Linked DNA regions of Homo sapiens: all the other regions are linked to region 3. The links are contacts of gene promoters, found by promoter capture Hi-C in human tissues and cell types (Jung and others, 2019). All regions are on one chromosome and are shown on one strand. Each heading gives the region's core, a stretch centred on a gene start or on the middle of the fragment in contact. The rest is flanking DNA. Distances are from core to core; before and after follow the strand shown. Region 1 overlaps CHID1 (chitinase domain containing 1). Region 2 holds the start of CEND1 (cell cycle exit and neuronal differentiation 1). Region 3 holds the start of RNH1 (ribonuclease/angiogenin inhibitor 1). Region 4 overlaps RPLP2 (ribosomal protein lateral stalk subunit P2). Region 5 holds the start of POLR2L (RNA polymerase II, I and III subunit L).

Evidence for each region. Contacts are between HindIII fragments. The study calls those that stand out against the background at their distance.
Region 1: a fragment that was not itself captured here is called in contact with the fragment with the promoter of RNH1 in region 3 in 1 of the 25 tissues and cell types used here (spleen).
Region 2: a contact is called between the fragment with the promoter of CEND1 here and the fragment with the promoter of RNH1 in region 3, in 2 of the 25 tissues and cell types used here (bladder and dorsolateral prefrontal cortex).
Region 4: a fragment that was not itself captured here is called in contact with the fragment with the promoter of RNH1 in region 3 in 1 of the 25 tissues and cell types used here (spleen).
Region 5: the fragment with the promoter of POLR2L here is called in contact with the fragment with the promoter of RNH1 in region 3 in 3 of the 25 tissues and cell types used here (aorta, lymphoblastoid cells and spleen).

Annotation. Positions count from the first base shown.
Region 1 is chr11:905,360-909,859 of GRCh38, reverse strand. The region is part of intron 1 of CHID1 (chitinase domain containing 1); the gene reads left to right. Among named protein-coding and RNA genes, the nearest start is that of CHID1, 3.2 kb to the left of the region's middle. The HindIII fragment of the contact is 5,018 bases long and covers 1-3,949 here.
Region 2 is chr11:788,071-792,379 of GRCh38, reverse strand. CEND1 (cell cycle exit and neuronal differentiation 1) reads left to right here and starts at 2,290. Exons shown (of 2, transcript NM_016564.4): 1 at 2,290-2,350; 2 at 3,722-4,309. The coding sequence starts at 3,804. The coding sequence ends at 4,253. SLC25A22 (solute carrier family 25 member 22) reads left to right here. Exons shown (of 10, transcript NM_001191061.2): 8 at 1-76; 9 at 163-238; 10 at 312-1,905. The coding sequence ends at 465. RefSeq lists a silencer at 2,150-2,379. The HindIII fragment of the contact is 19,046 bases long and covers 1-4,309 here.
Region 3 is chr11:505,409-509,733 of GRCh38, reverse strand. It overlaps RNH1 (ribonuclease/angiogenin inhibitor 1), which reads left to right and starts at 2,492. Exons shown (of 11, transcript NM_203387.3): 1 at 2,492-2,621. It also overlaps a transcript of LRRC56 not described here. RefSeq lists a cis regulatory region at 3,138 and an enhancer at 3,054-3,223. The HindIII fragment of the contact is 14,362 bases long and covers 1-4,325 here.
Region 4 is chr11:811,775-815,904 of GRCh38, reverse strand. RPLP2 (ribosomal protein lateral stalk subunit P2) reads right to left here. Exons shown (of 5, transcript NM_001004.4): 4 at 3,272-3,370; 5 at 3,029-3,145. The coding sequence ends at 3,069. SNORA52 (small nucleolar RNA, H/ACA box 52) reads right to left here; the gene lies at 4,091-4,130. Among named protein-coding and RNA genes, the nearest start is that of SNORA52, 2.2 kb to the right of the region's middle. RefSeq lists enhancers at 3,118-3,858, 3,859-4,130. The HindIII fragment of the contact is 3,735 bases long and covers 1-3,668 here.
Region 5 is chr11:839,840-843,788 of GRCh38, reverse strand. POLR2L (RNA polymerase II, I and III subunit L) reads left to right here and starts at 1,260. Exons shown (of 2, transcript NM_021128.5): 1 at 1,260-1,375; 2 at 3,309-3,949. The coding sequence starts at 1,281. The coding sequence ends at 3,417. TSPAN4 (tetraspanin 4) reads right to left here and starts at 937. Exons shown (of 9, transcript NM_003271.5): 1 at 874-937. RefSeq lists silencers at 265-433, 419-648, 669-758, 869-1,498, 3,727-3,776 and enhancers at 767-1,510, 1,511-2,256, 2,257-3,001. The HindIII fragment of the contact is 28,886 bases long and covers 1-3,949 here.

The sequences.
Region 1 (4,500 bases), core at 191-2,690, 400 kb before region 3:
TTGAACTCCTGATGGGGTGATCTGCCCGGCAGAAAAATATTTTTTGTAGAGACCAGGTCTGGCTGTGTTGCCAAAACCAGTCAAAAACTCCTGGCCTCCCAAAGTGCTAGGATCACAGGCCAGAGCCGCCATGCACCAGTTAGTTCTTCAAAACACAACAGAACAGGAGTTGTCAGTGCGTCCATCGCAGAATAGAGTTAGCTCTGATTGGCTGCTGTCGCTCTACACATGTACACACATGCACAACACATGTGCACACATGACATACACGTGTGCTGGGCTGTGACGTAAAGTGCATTTCTTACTGCTGGTCTCCATGAAAAGCATTGGAAAGCCCCTGCTGTGACTCCCATCATTTCCATCAACACCACCGAGGAGGTCCTGGACCTACGGACTGGGAGCGCAGGAAAGTGGGAGCAGTAGCGCTCCACCTTATCTTGTTACAGAGCGGTTTCTGGGACCCCTTTGGGTGACCAGGGTCGGGGCCTGTGCCTCTTCATAACACAACACATTCCCTTTGTGTGCGGGGCCGTTCTGCCCAAGGGAAGGTCATTGGCATTTGGGGAAGAAACGGTTTGATGCAGGAACACAGTGTGTGTGAACCTGGGAGTCTGTGTTATGTGAAGAGCATGATGGAGAGTGTCCTCACGGGCCTCAGAGCCGAGCGGCCGGTGAGCAGTGGGGAGCGGGAGAGGTACCAAAGCCCAGACAAGGGCCTGGTTGCAGTGTGAGCACCCCTCACACATCACACACACCATCTCCCTGGGGCAGTTGTCTGGAAAGTTCCATGGCAAGTCAAAGAAGCAGCCCAGCATTTGTGAGCAGCCTGTATCCAAGCACTCCATCACAGAGCGGGCAAGTTAAGCGCGAGTGGACAGAGGCAGTACCCTGGCCTTGTGTTCAGTTAGGTTCTCCTAGTGTCCCCTCTGCTGGACACATGCTGGCAGGACTGTCTTCCTCTTCCACCCTTTCCTCTTCCTTCCCTGAAGTGTGAAATCACAGGTTGGGGGGCAGGGAGGTCATAGGCAGAGGGGCCACTAGGTGGGTGGACAGTGGCCCTGTTTCAAATCTGCAGGACGGCAGGTAGGGGCAGAGACCCAGCCCTATAGTGGTTGGTCACTGGGTACCTGAGTGTGCCCTCCAGTTACTCCTGGGCCAGTCCCCTGGAGAACCACCGTTTGGTTTTTCATTCCTTTCCTTCCTCCCTGACCCAGATTTCCACCCAGAAGACAGAGAAGGAGCCAGTGGTCATGGAATGGGCTGGGGTCAAAGACTGGGTGCCTGGGAGCTGAGGCAGCCACCGTTTCAGCCTGGCCAGGCAAGTGATTCTGGGCCGTCTTCCCTGTGCCATGGCCAGAACCCTCCCCACCTTCCCTGGGGCTGTTGCTGACTCAGACCAAGCCTCAGCTGCAGCAGAAAGATAGTGGGGCTAAGGGGAGGTGGCAGCAGGCTGCTGCCCTTGGTTCTGATTCTGGGATGTATCACTGAGGAGAGGGGCTGGAGAGGTTGATCGGGGCAGAGGGTGGTGATCTGTGCCTGGGCCTTCTTATTCCCCCTGCACAGCCTCTCGGAACTGCCGTGGCTGTTCAAGCACTCACTGCCTTTGCCTGTGGCTCCATGTACTGGGTGCTGCTGTGCTTGCCCTGTGAGTTCCCTTCCTAACTCCCCATAAGCCTGCAGGTCAGGCTGTCTTGTGGCTCCCTGCCTCCTAGGTGGGGGAGCTTCACTGGTTGATCTTGCTCCAGGAGCGTGTTCTTTCTATGCAGGTGTGTTGTGGGTGTATTGGGTACCAAAGCATGCAAACTCCCTGCCTGGGGGTAGCCACAGTCTCCTCAGTCTGCACCAGGAGCACCAGTCTCACCCAGGGAAGAGACAGGGCAAAGTGGGGCAGCGTGTGCCTCTGCAGAAGAAAGCAGGTCAAGGGGACGGTTTCAGAGGAAGTGAAAACAGGTTCCTGGCCAGGGAGTCTTTTGGGTAGGAGGGTAGGCACTGTGGTAGGCCTGGCTCTGGCAGCATCTTCTGACAGGTGCACCTGCCTGGCTGGGGTTCCTGGAGCCTCTTGGGCCTGAGCTCCCATATACTCAGGAGCCTGTGACCCAAGGGGAAGGCCATGTGCCCAGCTGCTGGGTAGTGAGTTGGGCTGAGCTCCCCACCTGTCAGGTATCTGCCTCTGCCCAGGCTGTGTGGGCCTCTCAGCTGGTCTAGAGGGGTCTGTGCTGCCAGAGCTGTGAAACTAGCCAAGAGCTTCTTCCCAGCAGTGTCCCAAAGCTTCATGAAGGACTAACAGTCTGGCTGGGCTATGGTGGTGGTTCAGCTCCCACCGCCGCTGCCCCCAACCCCAGTGAAAGATAGAAAGTAGAATCACTTTTTTTTTTTTTTTAAAGACAGTCTCGCACCGTCGCCCAGGCTGGAGTGCACTGGCACTATCTCGGCTCACTGCGAACTCCACCTCCTGGATTCACACCATTCTCCTGCTTCAGCCTCTCGAATAGCTGGGACTACAGGCGCCTGCCACCATGCCTGGCTAATTTTTTGTATTTTTAGCAGAGATGGGGTTTCACCGTGTTAGCCAGGATGGTCTCGATCTCCTGACCTCGTGATCTGCCCGCTTCGGCCTCCCAAAGTGCTGGGATTACAGGCGTGAGCCACCGCGCCCGGCCGGAAAGTAGAATCACTTTTGTTGGTGGCCCCTAGAACCTGAAAGTGAACAGTGTAATAAAAGTTTAGTGCAGGAAGACCAGAAGATACAGATAAAGTAAAAGAGAAGAAACAATGACCAGTAATTCCAGATAGCCTGCTCATTTATTTTTTGTTTTGTTTCTTTGTTTTTGAGAGGGAGTTTTTGCTCCTGTTGCCTAGGCTGGAGTGCAATTGCGCGATCTCGGCTTACCGCAACCTCTGCTTCCCAGGTTCAAGTGATTCTCCTGTCTCAGCGTCCCGAGAAGCTGGGATTACAGGCATGCGCCAGCACGCCCAGCTAATTTTGTATTTTCAGTAGAGACAGGGTTTGTCCATGTTGGTCAGGCTGGTCTCGAACTCCCGACTTCAGGTGATCTGCCTGCCTTGGCCTCCCGACGTGGTGTGATTACAGGCGTGAGCCCCCGCGCCCAGGCTACTTTTTTGTTTTGTTTCTTAAGCTTCCACGTGAAGGGCATGTCGTTTGCTTTCTACCACCCCTCCCTACATGCTTTCTCTGTGGGACTGAACTGTGGAAGTTCTGTCTTGTAGCGTCTTCATTGACCGGCACACCACGAGCATGGCAGTGCCTGTCTGTGTTCCAGCATCTGGGAGAGCCAGGTCCATGAACATCCTCATGTTTTCAACGTATGTGGAAAATCCCCCATGGCTGGGCGCGGTGGCTCATTTTGGGAGGCAGGCAGATCACGGGAGGCCAGGAGCTTGAGACCAACCTGGCCAACGTGGCGAAACCCCATTTCTACTAAAAATACAAAAACTAGCCGGATGTGGTGGCACGCGCCTATAATCCCAGCTACTCGGGAGGCTGAGGTAGGAGAATCGCTTGAACCCAGGAGGTGGAGGTTGCAGTGAGCCAAGATGGCGCCACAGCACTCCAGTGTGGTGACATAGCAAGATTCCAACTCAAAAAAAAAAAAAAAAGTCCCACAGCCGGGCGCAGTGGCTCACACCTGTAATCCCAGCACTTTGGGGGGGCCGAGGTGGGCAGATCACCTGAGGTCAGGAGGTGGAGACCAGCCTGGCCAATGTGGTGAAACCTCATCTCTATTAAAATACAAAAATTAGCCAGGTGTGGTGGTGGCTGGGATCCCAGAGTGCTGGGATTCCAGGCATGAGCCACCGTTCCCAGCCGGGACATTTTTTACTGGAATGTCTTTTCTTGATTTGTGAGATTTATTTGCATGTTATGAATAGATTATGGGTAGAAATCCGTTGTCAAGTGTGTTCCAAATATTCTTTCTGGTTTATTATTTGTCTTCACATTTCCTTCTTTATTTCCTGAATGAAAGTCTTACATTTGTATGTAGTTCTACTCCAGTGGTATTTTCTTTCCTAATCTCTCCCATTGCTCATATAGCTGGAAAAGCCTTCTCCACCCTGAGACTGCATAAATAGGTAGCTATATTTTCTCCTAGTACTTAACGTGGCATCACCACCATCATCGTTATTATCGTAGGCTTCTCTGAGCCTACGATTTTTTTCTTTTTTTTTTTTGAGATGGAGTCTTGCTCTGTCCCCAGGCTGGAGTGCAGTGGCATGATCTTGGCTCACTGCAACCTCTGCCTCCTGGGTTCAAGCGATTCTCTTGCCTCAGCCTCCCGAGTAGCTGGGACTGCAGGTGCACGCCACCACACCTGGCTAATTTTTATATTTTTAGTAGAGATGGGGTTTCACCATGTTGGTCAGGCTGGTCATGAATTCCTGACCTCAGGTGATCCGCCCGCCTCAGCCTCCCATTAAGTGTTGGGATTACAGGCATAAGCCACCGCACCCGGCCCAAATATTTAATTTTTGTAGGATCTC
Region 2 (4,309 bases), core at 1,041-3,540, 280 kb before region 3:
TCGCCTTTCTACGTGTCCTTCCTGGCCGGCTGTGTGGCTGGGAGTGCCGCCGCTGTGGCCGTCAACCCCTGTGATGGTCAGTGCATGGGATGGCGCCCGGCTGGGGATGGGGCGGGACTGAGCCCTTGGCCAGGCTCACACTGACCCGAGCGCCCCTTGCAGTGGTGAAGACGCGGCTCCAGTCACTTCAGCGAGGCGTCAACGAGGACACCTACTCTGGGATCCTGGACTGTGCCAGGTGGGGAGGTCCCACGGCGGGTGGGGCCTGGGGGCCTGCGTACCGGGCTGACCCTTTCGTCCTTCCTCCACAGGAAGATCCTGCGGCACGAGGGCCCCTCGGCCTTCCTGAAGGGCGCCTACTGCCGCGCGCTGGTCATCGCGCCCCTTTTCGGCATCGCACAGGTGGTCTACTTCCTGGGCATCGCGGAGTCCCTGCTGGGGCTGCTGCAGGACCCCCAGGCCTGAGCCCAGCACCCGCTCCACCCCAGCCAGCTGGGCAGGGCCGGTGTGGGGCTGGAGCCAGGCAGCTAGCCCAGGACGGAGCAAGGGAAGACCCCTCCCCAGCCCTCCCGTCGGCAGGGGCAGCAGGGGGCAGGGTGCAGGGTCCACATAGGTGGTGCACACGCAAGCCCCCCGGGGTGCTGCCTGCACCGTTGGGATCAATGTCTCATTTATGTAGAAAATGCAGAAATCTTTACATTCCTCAAGCTAGCCCCTGCCCCAATCCTGCCCTGGCCTGAACACCCCCAGGGACAGAGCTGGTCTCTGGGCTGGGGGCCCCCGGGCCTGGGCCGGGCAGGCTGGACCATACCCCCAGTCCACCAGCTCCAGTCTCCACAGCCATCCTGGCCCACACAGGCACCCCACACAAACCTATTTATTGAATCTGCTGGACCCAAGCGGCTCTCCAGCCCTTCCGTCCTTCCCCAGCCGCTCTTGTCGCCTTGGCAGGACTTGACTCTGCCTCCCTGGCCAGCCTTGCAAGAGGACTGGGGTCTCCTGCCCTCTCTGTTGAGCCAGGAATCCCAAGTGAGGGGTTGCCCTGAGGTCTGACTCTTGGGGCAAGCCCGCCACCCACTGTGGGACTTTCTGGTGGGCTCCTCAGCTCCCACCCCAGGCTGGGGCCCAGATTGTGAGGTCTGTGTGCATGTGTGTGTGTATGTGTGTGTGCATGCGTGTGTGTGTTGTGGGGATCTGGCCTGGCCCTTGGGGATGGGGCTGCTGGGGACTGCCCCCCTTCCCGCCGTGGCCAGGCGCTCTGTGTGCTGTGTGTGCCCCAGGCTCTGTTGACCCCGTCCAGGAACTAACTTACCCAGCTTGGTCTCTCCTGAGTCCTCCACCCTGGCCTGGGATTGGCCAGGGAGCAGGGCGGGCATTGGGACCAGTGTGGAGCCTGAGGGTGCCTGCCCTGCTCTGGAGGGAGGGCCAGGAGCTGCCACACCCCCAAGTCCTCTCAGGGCCCACCCTCCTTTTTCAGCCTCTGCATAAGGCCCCTGGGTACACTGCAGAAGCCCCATCCTTCCCGCCTCCGGGCATAAGGCCCCTGACCACACTTCAGAAGCCCCATCCCCCCTGCCACCGGGCGATCCCTGCTGTGAGCCGAAGCTCTCCCTGCCCCGCCCTGGCCATGTGATCGTGTTGGTGACAGACCCTGATGTGCTGGTGCTGTGTCCCCAAAACCGGGGCCCTCCACAGAGGCCCCTTCCCAGCGACACTACCTGGGGCTCAGGCCTGGACCCCCCCAGTTCACGGTTGCTCCTGGGAGCTGCCCCTCCCGTCACATCAGAACCTTGGAAGCTGCTGCTGCTGCTTACAGAATTATATTTTTTTCTTTTGAAGAGTTTTAAGAAGTTGTAACTTTTTGTGTCTTGTCATGTCAGAGAATAAATAAATATTCTAAGTAGATGCTGCTGTCTGTCTGGGGGTCTGTTTGGGGGCGGGGGAGGGCAGTCCCCTCTTCCCATAACTGGCTCCCTTCAGACTGCAGGGCTAGGCCTGCGCACCCACCCACCGACCCCTCACCCACCGACCCGTCACCCACCGACCAAGGGGCACCCTGGCCTAGAGGGGATGCTGAGCGGGACCCGCCTCCTGCCTCTGGCAGTCCCAGATGGGACTTGGACCCCGCAGTTGCTCTCTCGGACCCTAAGTTTCTACCCCTGGATCTAAGGCGGAGCTGGGTTTGCGGATCCCACGGTTCCCGGCGGGGCGGGGCCCGGTCGCCCCTCCCCCTCCCCGCCCTCCTGCGCCGGGAGCAGTGCATTGTGGGAAACTCCCGAGCTCTCCTCCGCGTTCGCAGCCGCCGTCATCCCGCGGAGGAGCGCGCAGCCCCGGGGAGGCCGGAGGACGCGTAAGGCGGGGGGCTCCCGGCGGGCGGGGCGGGCGGGGCGGGCGCGGCGTCCTGCGGGGCGAGGAGGCGGCTCCGGGCCTTGAAGGTCACTGGGTTTGCGCGCGGGCCCCCCAGTTCTCCAGGGCTCAGTTGATCCCGGGAGAGGGAGGCGGCGGCCGGGATGTAAGTGCCACAAATAGCGAGGTTGGGGGGGCAGACCACCTGCTCTTTGCAAACTTGATGCCCAGCAGCTGAGCCCCCCGAGAACTGCAGGGGTGAAGGGACGGCTGGGCTTCCCTGGGAGGTGGCAGCAGCTGGGCCTCTTCTGGAGACGCCCTCATCATGCTGTGACCTTCGGGTGACCTTCAGTGTGGTCAATGCACCTGGCGGGGGGTGGGGAACGTGCCTCCCTTTCTCTGCAGGTCTGGAGGGCATTTCTCATCCTTCCCTGGGAGAGGCAGACAGGCGGCCTCTGGGGCTTTGGGGCAAGACCCACTCAGGTTCAGGGCGGCTGGGCCCCCAGGGCCCTTCCCACCTCTGCCTCGGTCATTGAGAATCTGGGCACCGCCTTTCCCACAGCCCAGAACCCTGTCCTCCGCCCTGACCCGCGGGCCAAGTGCAGCATGTGCCCACCCTGTTTAACGCCAGGAACCCTCTGCCCACAGAGACAGCACAGCCTTGGGCTGGGCGAGGACTCCCTGCTCCAGGGCTGGAGGCAGGCACGGCCCATGCTGAGGAGGGGGCCCCAGAGGCTGGGGAGGGGCAGACGGCCCTTGGAAGCACAGCCCCACGCTGACTTCCTGGAGAGACACCCCAGTTTTCTCAAGTCTGGGTTCTTGTGGGCCCACCCACCCTGATGGCTGCCTGAGATCCCAGCTCCTGCCCCTCCCCGCCCTCCTCCCCCTGGGACCCTGGCCAGGTCACAGCCTCCGTGCTTTAGTGTCCATCTCTGCAAAGCAGGAATGCTCTCCTGAGGAGGGGATGCAGTCAGCTCTCCCACTGGGGCTCCGATCACCTCCTTGGAGGGGAGAATGCTCTTCCTTCGAGTTCTCTGGGCCTGATCCTTACTTCCCCACCAAGAGCCTCCTGCCCCCGGCTGGTGGGAGGATGTGGCATTTGCATGGGCCATTTTATGGAGCACAGTGGGGTCCCCTACCTCCTCCCACCTGTGCGTGGCCCTTGCCTCTGCGGCTGGAGGGGCCCCTTGAGGAGTGGTCATGGACAGATGGAGTCCAGGCCGTGAAAGAGAAGTGTCAGAGGCCCACGGGAGGCCCCTGAGCTGGGGCTCCAGAGAGTCCAGAGAACTGGGCAGGGGCTGCCTGGGGACCAGGTGGTCGGGGCAGCACAGGGGGGACTGGACCCGCGCGCAGCCTCCCTTGTGTCTCCCTCCAGGCCCATAGAATGCCCAGGGGCGACAAACTGTCCTGAGCCCCTCTGGTGCAGCCACCTGCCTGTCCCATACGCCCCGCCCACCATGGAGTCCAGAGGGAAGTCAGCCAGCAGCCCCAAGCCCGACACCAAGGTGCCCCAGGTCACCACCGAGGCCAAGGTACCCCCGGCAGCCGATGGGAAAGCCCCCTTGACCAAGCCCTCGAAGAAGGAGGCCCCGGCCGAGAAGCAGCAGCCGCCAGCAGCCCCCACCACGGCACCTGCCAAGAAGACCTCGGCCAAGGCCGACCCTGCCCTTCTCAACAACCACAGCAACCTGAAGCCAGCCCCCACGGTCCCCAGCAGTCCCGATGCAACCCCGGAGCCCAAGGGTCCTGGGGACGGGGCGGAGGAAGATGAGGCTGCCAGTGGGGGGCCTGGGGGCCGAGGTCCCTGGTCCTGTGAGAACTTCAACCCCCTGCTGGTGGCTGGGGGTGTGGCCGTGGCAGCCATAGCCCTGATTCTCGGTGTGGCCTTCCTGGTCCGGAAAAAATAATACCTGGGGGCCAGGCGGGGGGCACGGAGCCACTTCCTGTACAGACCCGAGGAAGC
Region 3 (4,325 bases), core at 1,243-3,742:
AAAAAAAAAAAAAAAAAAATTAGCCGGGCGTGGTGGCAGGTGCCTGTAGTCCCAGCTACTCGGGAGGCTGAGGCAGGAGAATGGCTTGAACCTGGGAGGCGGAGCTTACAGTGAGCCGAGATCGCGCCACTGCACTCCAGCCTGGGCGACAGAGCGAGACTCCATCTCAATAAAATAAAATAAAAATGAAGACATACCTTTCAGGGGCTGTGGCCGCACTGTCCAGGAGGGAGGCCCGGCCACAGACACCATGCTGGCCGTGCGCTCAGCACCTATACATACCTGGGCACCTTCCCCACAAGGTGTCACAAAAGGGAGCCCAACAGCCATTTTAAACATTTTCTTCACTCTTATGAGAATTGCCACGAACAAATCTAAGAGATCATGGCAAAGAAAAGAATGAAATGAAACCAGAACATTTCAGCAGCTTTTGCAAAGATGTCAAGAGAACCAGTCCAGGAGTCAGACTGGCGGCATCCTTCCAGCTTCTTGTCATGAATTCTAAACCTCACATCCAGACTCCAAAGCTTAGAGAGTTAAAGAATCAGCTACTGGTCACCAAGCTCACGTGTGCAGGATGAGGGTCACAGCCAGGTTGGCTGCCTTCCAGCCCTGAGCTTTCTTGGGGGTGTGTGTGTGTGTGTGTGAACCACCTTCTTTTTGAGACGGAGTTTCTTTTTTCTTTTTTGAGATGGAGTTTCGCTCTTGTTGCCCAGGCTGGAGTACAGTGGCACGATCTTGGCTCACTGCAACCTCTGCCTCCTGGGTTCAAGTGGTTCTCCTGCCTCAGCCTCCTGAGTAGCTGGGATTACAGGCATGCACCACCATGCCTGGCTAAGTTTTTGTAATTTTAGTAGAGATGGGGTTTCATCATCTTGGCCAGGCTGGTCTTGAACTCCTGACCTCAGGTGATCTGCCTGCCTTGGCCTCCCAAAGTGTTGGAATTACAGGTGTGAGCCACCGCGCCCAGCCAGAGTTTCATCTTGTTGCCCGAACTGGAGTGCAATGGTGTGGTCTAGGCTCGCTGCAACCTCTGCTTCCCGTGTTCAAGCGATTCTCCTGCCTCAGCCTCCCAAGTAGCTGGAATTACAGGTGCCCACCACCATGCCTGGCTAATTTTTGTATTTTTAGTAGAGATGGGGTTTCACCACGTTGGCCAGGCTGGTCTTGAACTCCTGACCTCAGGTGATCCACCCTTCTCGGTCTCCCAAAGTGTTGGGGTTACAGGTGTGAGCCACCACGCCCGGCCAGAACCACCTTCTTTAAAGATGATCAGGCCGGGTGTAGTGGCTTATGCCAGTAATTCCAGCGATATGGGAGGCTGAAGCAGGAGGATCACTTGAGCCCAATTCAAGACCAGGCTGGGCAACACAGGGAGACCTCTTCTCTACATAAAATACAACAATTAGCCAGGCGTGCTGGCGCCTGTGGTACCAGCTACTTGGGAGGCTGAGGCGGGAGGATCACTGGAGTCCGGGAGGTGGAGGCTGCAGCGAGCTGGGATCGCGCCACTGCAGTACAGCCTAAGCAGTGGAGTGAGACCCTGTCTCGAAAACAAATACCTAATAAAGGCAGTCAGAGGAGAGGTTTAGCAAATTGCTAAAGAACAAATCTGAGATACCGTTAGTTTCCTTACTTGCAATCTTCATCTGCCAAAATGTCAATTCTGTGAATTGCGGACTAGTCAAAAACTTAAAGAAAACCCACTTTTGTGGAGGTGGGGTCGCTTTGCGTTTCCCAGGCTGGTCTGGAACTCGGCCTGCGCCCCTCAGTGCCAGGGCTCCAGGCGACGCTCGGGTGTCGGCAGCAGAGTGGACGCAGGAGCAGCTCGGACCGCGCTCAGAACACTCGGGACGAGGCCGCGGCTCCGCAGGCCTTGCGGGCTGGGGTCCCACGAAACAAAGGCGGCAGCCAGTGGCCAGGACGGGCAGCGTGGTTCACGGGGCCGTGGCTCCCTCGGGGGTCGCGAGCTCGGCGCAAACGAGCCCCTCTACCAAGGTCGCCTAGAGTCGCGACCCCGACATGCGGAGCCGCCCCAGGGGGGTTTCTCCCGGGTCCCTCCTGTCCCGAGGCGGCCGCTTTCTCCGGGGGCCGCGCCCCGCGCCCCAGCAAGGCCCGACCCGCGCCTGCGATTCCGCCCCCAAGGCGCTGCCGCACCGGGCCCCGGCCTCTTCCTCCGAGGATTCTCAGGAATTGCTGAGACTTGCGTGCCAGTGCGAGGCCCACAACACGCACACGCGCCCGCGCCCGCCAGACCCCGCCCCCGGCACCAAGCCCCGCCTACTGGGGGAGACCACGCCCCCAAGCGAGACCTCCCTCACCGAGCCACGCCCCACCAGGCCCCGCCGCTGCGCCAAGACTGTGCTTAGCCGAGCCCCGCCCGCCGGGCCCCGCCCCGACCCCGAGACTACTCCCGCCAGGCCCCGCCCCCGCGCCGAGCCCCGCCCAGTAGTCCCCGCCCACGCACCTGACCACGCCCACGAGCCGGCTCGAACACGCCCGCGCCGCTGACTGGCGGGTGGGGTTGTCGACACGTTCAACCCGTTCTGCTGGCTCGAGAACGAAGTAGGCCGTCTCGCTCTGGGTCTCCAGGCCCGCGACCGTCCGCCAGTCGTCCCGAGGTCAGTAGCTCCAGCGGTGCGTCAGCGTCTAGCCAGGCCTCGCCCACGCCGGCCTTGGTCGGGCTTCTTGTAGACGCGGGCCTGGCGCTATTGAGGCCGTTGCTGCGCGGGCGAGTGGCGCGCTCCCGTGGCGGGGCGGGGTCGGGCGGGGCAGGGGTCCGGGGCTATCGAGGCGGGGCCGAGGTTGCGCTGGGCAGCTGCGCCGCCGGGCGGACGTGGCGCGCCTTGAGGACGTCATCGCGGTGCACGCTCCCCTTTGGGGCTTGCCGGAAGTCCTTGCCCGGGGCGCGGGGCTGCGCCTGCGTGGTTCGTCCTCACGTGGCCGTCAAGCCCTCTAGTGCCTTAGATTCCAGCGAGCTACGCAAGCAATCCTGGCCCAGCCGAGCTTGCTTCCCCAAATCCCGTAATCCTTGACCTTATTCCCCCAAAGAAGCGGCCTCCCGGGAAGGAGCGCCCTGGCGGAGAAGACTCGAACGGCTCCCACAGCCGGGCGTTGGGGGAAAGGTGGGCGGTCTTGGTCGTGCGAGGTCGGGGAGGGAGGGTCCTCCGCTCTCCATTGCGGAGCTTCGCTCCGGGACCACCGGGGGACCGGACGCCGGGCCGCGAAGCTGCCGCCTGGGGCTGCGGGGAGGAGAGCAACATAACTGGAATGGCACTTAGGGGCCGGTGTCAGGGTTGTCACCGGGGTTGGCGGAAATGACGAAGGGGCCCCAGGCACGTCGTGTTACTGGGCGAGGTTCCAGCCAAGGTGCCCACGCGCCTTGGGGGAAACCAGAGGACTTCTGCACCGTTTCCCGAGGACAGTTTGGCAGTGTTTCAGAAGGGCCTTAGAACCAGGCAGGCCCCCTTCTAGGATGGTGGAAAGCCTAAAGATCTGAAAACGGTCTCAAGTGTCGTCTTAGCGATTGGCTGACTAAACCGAATGCAAGCCGGAGACTGCACACGATGTTGCCGTTAACAGTTACACTGGGCCGGGCAGTCAGAGGCAGGCGGATCACCTGAGGTCAGGAGTTCGAGAACAGCCTGGCCAACATGGTGAAAACCCGTCTCTACTAAAAATACAAAATTAGCCGGGCGTGGTGGCAGGCGCCTATAATCCCAGCTACTTGGGAGGTTGAGGTAGGAGAATGGCTTGAACTCAGGAGGCGGAGGTTGCGGTGAGCCGAGATCGTGCCACTGCACTCCAGCCGGCTGACAAGAGCGAAACTCCTTCTCAAAAAAAAAAAAAAAAAAAAAAAGTTACATTAGGCTGGGTGCGCTGCAGCCTGTAATCCCAGCACTTTGGGAGGCCGAGGCGGGCGGATCTCTTGAGCCCAGGAGTTTGCGACCAACATACTGAGTTTGGCCAAAATAGTGAGACCCCCGTCTCTACAAAAGATAGAAAAAATTAGCCAGTTGCGGTAGTGAACGCTTGTAGTCCCAGCTACTTGGGACGCTGAGGGAGGAGGAGCACTTGAGCCCTGGAAGAGGAGGCTGCAGTGAGCTATTTTCTCATCCCTGCTATAACGAATTTGTCACAGGCTGTTTTATAGGCCTGGAGCTCAGAAGCCCGAAGTGAGTTTTAGGAGGTTAAAATCAAGGTGTTGGCAAGGGTAGTTCCTTCTGGAGTTTCCCAAGGAGAATCTGCTTCTTTTCCTCTTCCAACTTCTAGAGGCCACCTTCTTCCATCTTCAAAACCTACTGTCTCTGCATAAGAACTCTCAT
Region 4 (4,130 bases), core at 552-3,051, 310 kb before region 3:
CCCTGAGCCTGGGCGATCCCCAGCCCCCGCCTCACCCCTGCCCCGTTGTAGTGAGCACTGCTCCCTGCACTCCTTAGCTGTACCCTGCTGGGGTCATTTCTCTTTGCTTCCTCCTCCATCTGCTGCCCCACCCCTACTACCCAGGTTCCGGCCTCCTCCACTCCTCACCTGGCTTTACTCCCACCCTAATCTCTGCTTTTACGGGCATCCAAAAAGGTTTTTTTAAAAATATTATTAAGGCCGGGCACGGTGGCTCACACCTGTAATCCCAGCACTTTGGGAGGCCAAAGCAGGTGGGTTGCCTGAGCCAAGAGTTTGAGACCAGCCTGGCCAACGTGGTGAAACCCCATCTCTACAAAAAGATACAAAAATTAGCTGTGTTGGTGGCACACATCAGTAGTCCCAGTTACTCTGGAGGCTGAGGTGGGAAGATCACTTGAGCCTGGGAGGTCAAGGCTGCCATGAGCCAAGATCCTGCCACTGCACTCCAACCTGGGCAACACAGTGAGCCTCCGACTCAAAATATAAGATAAAATACAAAATAAAACAAAATATAAATGTAGGCCAGGCACAGTGGCTCACGCCTGTAATCCCAGCAGTTTCAGAGGCCGAGGCAGGAGGATCATTTGAGGCCAGGAGTTTGAGACCAACCTAGGCAACATGATGAAACCCCATCTCTACTAAAAATACAGAAATTAGCCAGGTGTGGAGGCGCGTGCCTGTAATTCCAGCTGCTCAAGAAGCTGAGGCATGAGAATTGCTTGAACCTGGAATGCAGAGGTTGCAGTGAGCCGAGATCGTGCCACTGCACTCCAGCCTGGACGACTAGAGCGAAACTCTGTCTCAAAAAATAAATAATGCCTGAAATCCCAGCACTTTGGGAGGCCGAGGTGGGCAGATCACGAAATCAGGAGATCGAGACCATCCTGGCTAACACGGTGAAACCCCGTCTCTACTAAAAAAAAAAATACAAAAATTAGCCGGGCGTGGTGGTGGGCACCTGTAGTCCCAGCTACTCTGGAGGTTGAGGTGAAGAATTACTTGAACCTGGGAGGTGGAGGTTGCAGTGAGCCGAGATCATGCCACTGCACGCCAGCCTGGGCGACAGAGTGAGATCACGTCTGGAAAAAATAAATAAATAAGGTAGCCGGGCGCGGTGGCTCACGCCTGTAATCCCAGCAGTTTGGGAGGCCGAGGCGGGCAGATCACGAAGTCAGGAGATCGAGACCATCCTGGCTAACACAGTGAAACCCCATCTCTACTAAAAAAAAAAAAAATACAAAAAATTAGGTGGGCGTGGTAGCGGGCGCCTGTAGTCCCAGCTACTCTGGAGGCTGAGGCAGGAGAGTGGCGTGAACCCGGGAGGCGGAGCTTGCAGTGAGATGGCGCCACTGCACTCCAGCCTGGGCGACAGAGCGAGACTCTGTCTCAAAAAAAAAAAAAAAAGAAAGAAAGAAGAAAGGCTAGGCGCAGTGGCTCATGCCTGTAATCCCAGCATTTTGGGAGGCCAAGGCGGGCGGATCACCTGAGGTCAGGAGTTCCAGACCAGCCTGGCCAACATGGTGAAACCCCATCTTTTCTAAAAATACAAAAAATTAGCTGGGACTGGTGGCAGGCACCTGTAGTCCCAGCTACTCAGGAGGCTGAGGCAGGAGAATCACTTGAACCAGAGAGGCGCAGGTTGCAGTGAGTGGAGAGTGTGCCACTTGCACTCCAGCCTGGGTAACAAGAGCAAAAGTCCATCTCAAAAAGAAAAAAAACAAAATAAATAAAAAGCATCTTGGGTCCCCCTCCATCTCAGTACTTTCTGTGGCTCCCTGGCTCCAACAATCCACATTCCTTCCCCTCCAGGGACTCTGCCTTCCTCCAGGTCTTGCCTTCCCATCTGAGGGAGGCCTCCCCCAGCCACCCCAACTGTCTTCTGTGCTATAGCCTATTTATCCTCCCAGAACTAAGGTGGTCACACAGCAGGTGCTCCCCACACCAAAGCCAGCGGGTGGGTTGCTGACCCCAAGCCTAGGGTGGGAGTGGCAGACCATCTTCTGGGTGCCTACGTTGGCGGGCAAAGACCCTGAGGCCTGGGAGACTGCGTACGGAGTAAGGCCAGGAGGGCAGAGAGGCTGGGAGGGGAGGGTGATGGCCTCTGTCCTTAGCCCTGTATTCCAGGACAGAGCCTGTCGGGGGAGGGCAGGCCCATCCCCAAAGGACCTAGTTCAGTGAGCACATGGCCCTGTGGTCACTTCCCACAAGCCCTGAGCACATCTGCCCAGTAAGGCAGGGGTGGGCTGTGATCGGCAAAAAAACAAGCCTGAGGAGTGATTGCCCAAGTTGCTCAGGGCATTATGGCGGAGCCATGACCCCTGCAGGGAAACCCAGGGGCGTCTGCCACCCCCAAGCTGGGCTCACTTCCTGCATCCATTTGTAGAGCCCAGGGGCTACCAATCCTGTCCTTGCAAGTCCAGGCACCAAGCCACCCCAAAGACAGAGCCCTGATTACCCAAACTCCATTGAAATCAGCTTCTCTGCTGTCCTTTTTTTTCAAGACAGGGTTTCTGCTGCTCAGGATGGAGTGCAGTGGCACTATCACGGCCCACTGTTAACTTCAACCTCCTGGGCAAGTGATCCTTCCATCTCAACTTCCCATAGTTGGGACTACAGGTGCACACCACGCCTTGTTAGGTTGTTTTTTAGAGATGGGGTCTTGCTATTTGCCCAGGCTGGTCTCAAACTGCTGGCCTCAAGTGATCTTCCCTCCTCGGCCTCCCAAAGTGCTGGGATAATGGGCACGAGCTACTGTGCCCAGCCCGTTCGCATTCTTCTGGGGTGTACTCAGGAGCTAGGATACTGCTCAAGGCCACAGGAAGGGACCCCAGGCAGCTGTGATGCCCAGACTCCCCTCCTCATGCTCATTTTGCACCAGAAACGCTTCCCCAATACCATGTTGCCCACACTTCAGCTCCACACCTGCCCTCTTGGATAAGAACCTGGGCAGAGGCCACCCTTGACAAAGTGCTCATGGAATACTTGAGAGATGTGTAAAAAGGCTTTATTTGCAGGGGAGCAGGAATTTAATCAAAAAGGCCAAATCCCATGTCATCATCTGACTCTTCAGACTCCTCCTTCTTCTCATCTTTCTTCTCCTCTGCTGTGGAACAGAGGAGAGGCATGGTGAGCACTGCCCAAGTGCCAGGCCAGTCCCCCCATGAAGACCCCACTGCAGCAACACCGTCTGAGCCCCAGCCCCTTGCCCACTCACCAGGCCACCACTTACCTGCAGCAGGGGCAGAACCAGCAGCAGGGGCTGCAGAGCCTGGGGCAGCAGAGACGGCTACAGCCCCACCAGCAGGTACACTGGCAAGCTTGCCAATACCTACAGAAAGCAGAGAGGTGAGACCAGAGCAGCTGCCCAGCCTGGGAGGCTGTTCCACAGGGAAGTTAGATGGCACCAGAGATGGCACATGGCACCCAACATATCTGGACCCACCATATGCCAGTGTCTCCCGTTCTTCCTGAACACTCCCTCCCTGAGCCACTCCTCAACGGGGACTTCTCTTCCCCACCTTTCCTATCCAGGGACTTGCCTTCTAGGAATTAGGCCCACACTGCCTGCCTGCCCAATTTCCCCACCTCCACCCTCAGAGGTCCACTGGACAGACATGTTCATAACTAGGTAGGGAATGAGTGTGCTGCCCCAGTATCCACATCTCTGGCCACAACGCTGTGTTCATGGCTTGGCCCGTTTGCTGAGCTGGCCCTGTCGTGGTCACATGCATGGAAGACAAGAACAGCTGCCCCAACAGCTCAACTTCCAAACAAGTTCCACCAGCTCAGCTGAAGCCAACAAAAAACCATCTGCCCAACAAAGAGGCAAGGAGCCTATGGACATCCCTGGCACCCTCAGTCCCTGCCCCCAACCCCCTCACAGAAAGCATGTGGTAAGGACTGCTGACGTGAACTCAGTTCTCCAGACACCAAGCTTCAGACAAATCCTGGGGAATGGCCTCAGGGCTAGGAGCAGTCAGGCTTAAGAGGCAGGGCCACCTAAACGTCTGCTGAGAACACAGGGTGCCCCCTGCTGCCCTGCTCCTGAGAGTGTCTAGAAGTGCCCATGACGTGAGCCCACTGGAGCC
Region 5 (3,949 bases), core at 11-2,510, 340 kb before region 3:
AACCAGCCCAGAGCCCCCCATGGGTGCCGCTTTGCGGCCCACCCACCCCCACAGCCCACCTCGCACCTCCAAGGAGCCTTCTTTGCCTCTCACTGCACACCGACCCCCCATTTCCTCACCCCCACCCCAGGGGCACAGCAAGAAGGGTGCTGGTGCCAGCCCCCCCGCACTCCATCCGAGAGACACGGGCTCCTCGTCCCTCGTCGTCCGTAGGCCCTGAGCTCCAGGGCAAGCCAGAGCTGAGGCCTTCAGGGGGTCCTGCCAGTGCAGCCTCCGGGAGTCTGCCCAGGGATCCCCTGTGCCGGGGTCTTCCAGGTTCAGCTCAAAAAGCACCTCTTCCACGACTCCCTCCCCGACCTCCCTCCCGGGTCCCCTCTCCCCGTGCTCAGAGGCGCGTCTGAGCGTCGGGAGCTCGGGACGGCGAGCAGCCAGCAGAGCCGGGACCCGGGAGGGCGCACCCCGACCCCATTCCCGGGAAAGAGCGGAAAGAACGCGGACAGGAGCCCGGGGCGGGGAGCTGCCGGCGGGGGCTGTAATTGCGCAGCTGAGGCCAGGGCGGCGCCCCTAGGGGCTGGGCCGCGTCCAGAATGGGACCCCCGAACTCAGCGCCGAGAGCCCCGGACACCCCGCGGGCAGAGGCCGAGGCGGAGGAACCCACTACTCGGCGCGGCCAGGAGGGGCGGCAGGAAGACCCGCCCCGGCCCCCGCCCGCCCTCTCCCCGAGCCCCCGCGCCGGACCCCACTTGTTGCTGCGTGTCGGCTCTGGGCTCGAACTCGCGCGCCCCGCTCGCGTCCGGCTCCAGCCGCTCCCGGTCGGACACCTCCGGCCACGGGACCCTGGCCGCACGCCCCCACAACCCCCAGGCGCAGTACCTGCGCCGCCGCCTCCCGCTCGCGCCGCCCGCTCCCGCCGCGCAGCTGTCAGTCAAGCGGACACGAGAAACGCGAACCGCCGCCGCAGCTTTACGGCCCTGCTCAGACGCCGTAGCGCCGGGATGCACCAAGACGGTGGGCGGGGGTGTGCGGTCTGCTGCTGCCGCGGCCGCGCGGGCCCGGGAGCCCCGGGACGCACAGGCCCAGGAGCCCCGGGACGCACGGGAAGCCCCTATCGCGGCGGAAACTGCGGCCAGCGGTGGCGGGGCCGGTGGAGGGACGGCCGGAACAGCGGAGAACGAGCGGAGCCGATTCTCCCGCAACAGTGGACGCGCCCGGGGCGGGGCCTGGGGGGGTTCTTCGCGTGCGGCCGGGCCGGGCCGGGCAGTCTGGGACGCGCCGCCGCCATGATCATCCCTGTACGCTGCTTCACTTGTGGCAAGATCGTCGGCAACAAGTGGGAGGCTTACCTGGGGCTGCTGCAGGCCGAGTACACCGAGGGGTGAGGCGCGGGCCGGGGCTAGGGGCTGAGTCCGCCGTGGGGCGCGGGCCGGGGCTGGGGGCTGAGTCCGCCCTGGGGTGCGCGCCGGGGCGGGAGGCGCAGCGCTGCCTGAGGCCAGCGCCCCATGAGCAGCTTCAGGCCCGGCTTCTCCAGCCCCGCTCTGTGATCTGCTTTCGGGAGAACCTTATCCCCTGAAGTCTGGGGAAGAGAACGGAGTTGGGCTTCAAACCAGTGGTGTCCTGGGGATTCTAGGTGGCCTGGCGGGTCGCAGGCGTCTTGTCACCCGCAGTAAAGCCCTTGGCCTCCGCCCTATTCCCATCTCTGCCCCCAGGCCCACCCCATGTCCTGCAAACCTCGCTGCAGGACGGGCGGGCGCGGCGGCTGACATCTGTAATCCCAGCAGTTTGGGAGGCCGAGGCGAGAGGCTTGCTTGAGCCCAGGAGGTCGAGACCAGCCTGGACAACCTGGGGAGACCCTGATCTCCAGAAATTTATTTTATTTTATTTTTCTTTTTTGAGACGGAGTCTCGCTCCGTCGCCCAGGTTGGAGTGCAGTGGCGCGATCTCGGCTCACTGCAACCCCCGCCTCCTGGGCTCCAGCAATTCTCCTGTCTCAGCCTCCCGAGTAGCTGGGACTACAGGCGTGTGCCACCACGCCCGGCTAATTTTTGTATTTTCAGTAGAGATGGGATTTCGCCATGTTGGCCAGGCTGGTCTGGAACTCCTGACCTCAGGTGATCCACCCGCCTCGACCTCCCAAAGTGCTGAGGTTACAGGCGTGAGCCACCGCGCCTGGCTCTATCTTTTTAATTCGCCGGACATGGCGGTGCACACCTGTGGTCCCAGCTACTTGGGAGGCTGAGACGAGAAAATCGCTTGAGTCTGGGAGGCAGGTGGAGGTTGCAGTGAGCCAAGATCACGCCACTGCACTCCAGCCTGGAAGAGAGAGTGAAACTCCGTCTCACGCACACACACACACAGAAAAAGAAATGCAGGGTAGACTTGCTGACCACCCTCATCAGGCTTTGTAGGGGAGGCGTCTTTCTCCTGTGCTTGTCCCTTGGTGCTGCTGTCACCACGGTGCCTGAGTCTTGGTGCCCCCGCTGGAGTCTGACCCTCGCCCACTGAGTCTTCGTCACATGTGAAGCCCTGGGCTTGTGTGCGCCAGCCTGCCATCGGCACTTGGTGCAGCTTGCTGGACAAACGAGGAAAGCGAGTGGGCTGCTAGACTGAGTGGCTGGCGGCCTGTCCAGACCCTTTCCCCGGATAGGAACGGCAGGGGCCTCCCATGTGGCCTCCCCTTTCCCAAGCTTCTGTGTCTCTGCACATTGGAGCCATCGGTGTGGGAGTTTTCTGGAGGTCTTGAGGGTGACTGGAGCTAGGTCCCAGGGAAATGAAAGCTTCTAATTGGCTTGGGAAGTGGGAGAGGTGGCTCCGTGGAGAAGCAGTCTCTCTCTGATGGAAGGAAGCAGAGGTGAGGAAAGACCCCACAGCGGCAGAGCAGGGCTTGCTCTGGCTGGGGTGGGGGTGAACCAGCTAAGGGCAGGCCCCTGGAGAGCTACCCTGCCGTGGCCAGTGCTGGATGAGGTGGCTGCACATCAGCACCTTGGTGGTCTTGGTTTTCTAAGCTCCCCGCAATTACTTCGTTTTCATTTCATTTACATTTCTTACATACGTTATACACACACACGTACAGCCAGAGTAGGTGGGAGAGGAGGCTCCTCACGCTCCACCCAGGGTTCTGGGCATTTCCAGGTTACTCCAGCCAGGATCATACTGCTAGATCTCAGCTTCTGAGCCGGGTGAATCTGTTCGCCTTGCCGGTGGCGGGGGGGGTGAGGCCAGCAGGCAGTGAGAGGCAGGTTGGATGTGGGCTCCAGGCCTTTGCAGACCGTAGAGAACTCAGTTGGCCTCTGCTCCTCCCCTCGACACAGGGATGCGCTGGATGCCCTGGGCCTGAAGCGCTACTGCTGCCGCCGGATGCTGCTGGCCCACGTGGACCTGATCGAGAAGCTGCTCAATTATGCACCCCTGGAGAAGTGACCACGCTGGAACCCACCCACCCGCTGTGCTGACCATGGGCCCTGAGCGTCCTGCCCCGAATTCACGAGGCTGAGGCATCCGGGAGCTGGCGTAATGCCTGGCCGCAGTGTGTGTGTATCCGATACCCCACTCTGGAAGGAACCATCCAGTAAAGGTCTTTCAGAACCACTAAGGTCCCAGCCCTCACTAGGATGTCAGGAGCCAGGTCTAGGCCCAGCTTTCACACTGTGGCAGCCCAGTGAAGCAGACTGGGCCATGAACTCTCCTAGCCCTGGGGCCAGCCTGTTCCACAGGCACCCCTGCAGGAGGCGCTGCCAGGAGAGCCTTCCATCTCGGGGCTCTTTGAGGTTCCCTCCTTCTGGGTGTTCTTCAGGCTGAGCAGAGAGGCTCCTGTACCCTCTCTCTCGGAATCTGAAGAGCCAGATTTAGGCCGGGCAAAGGGGCTCACCCCTATAATCCCAGGACTTTGGGAGGCCAAGGCAGGAGGATCACTTGAGTCCAGAAATTCAAGACCCGCCTGGGCATCATAATG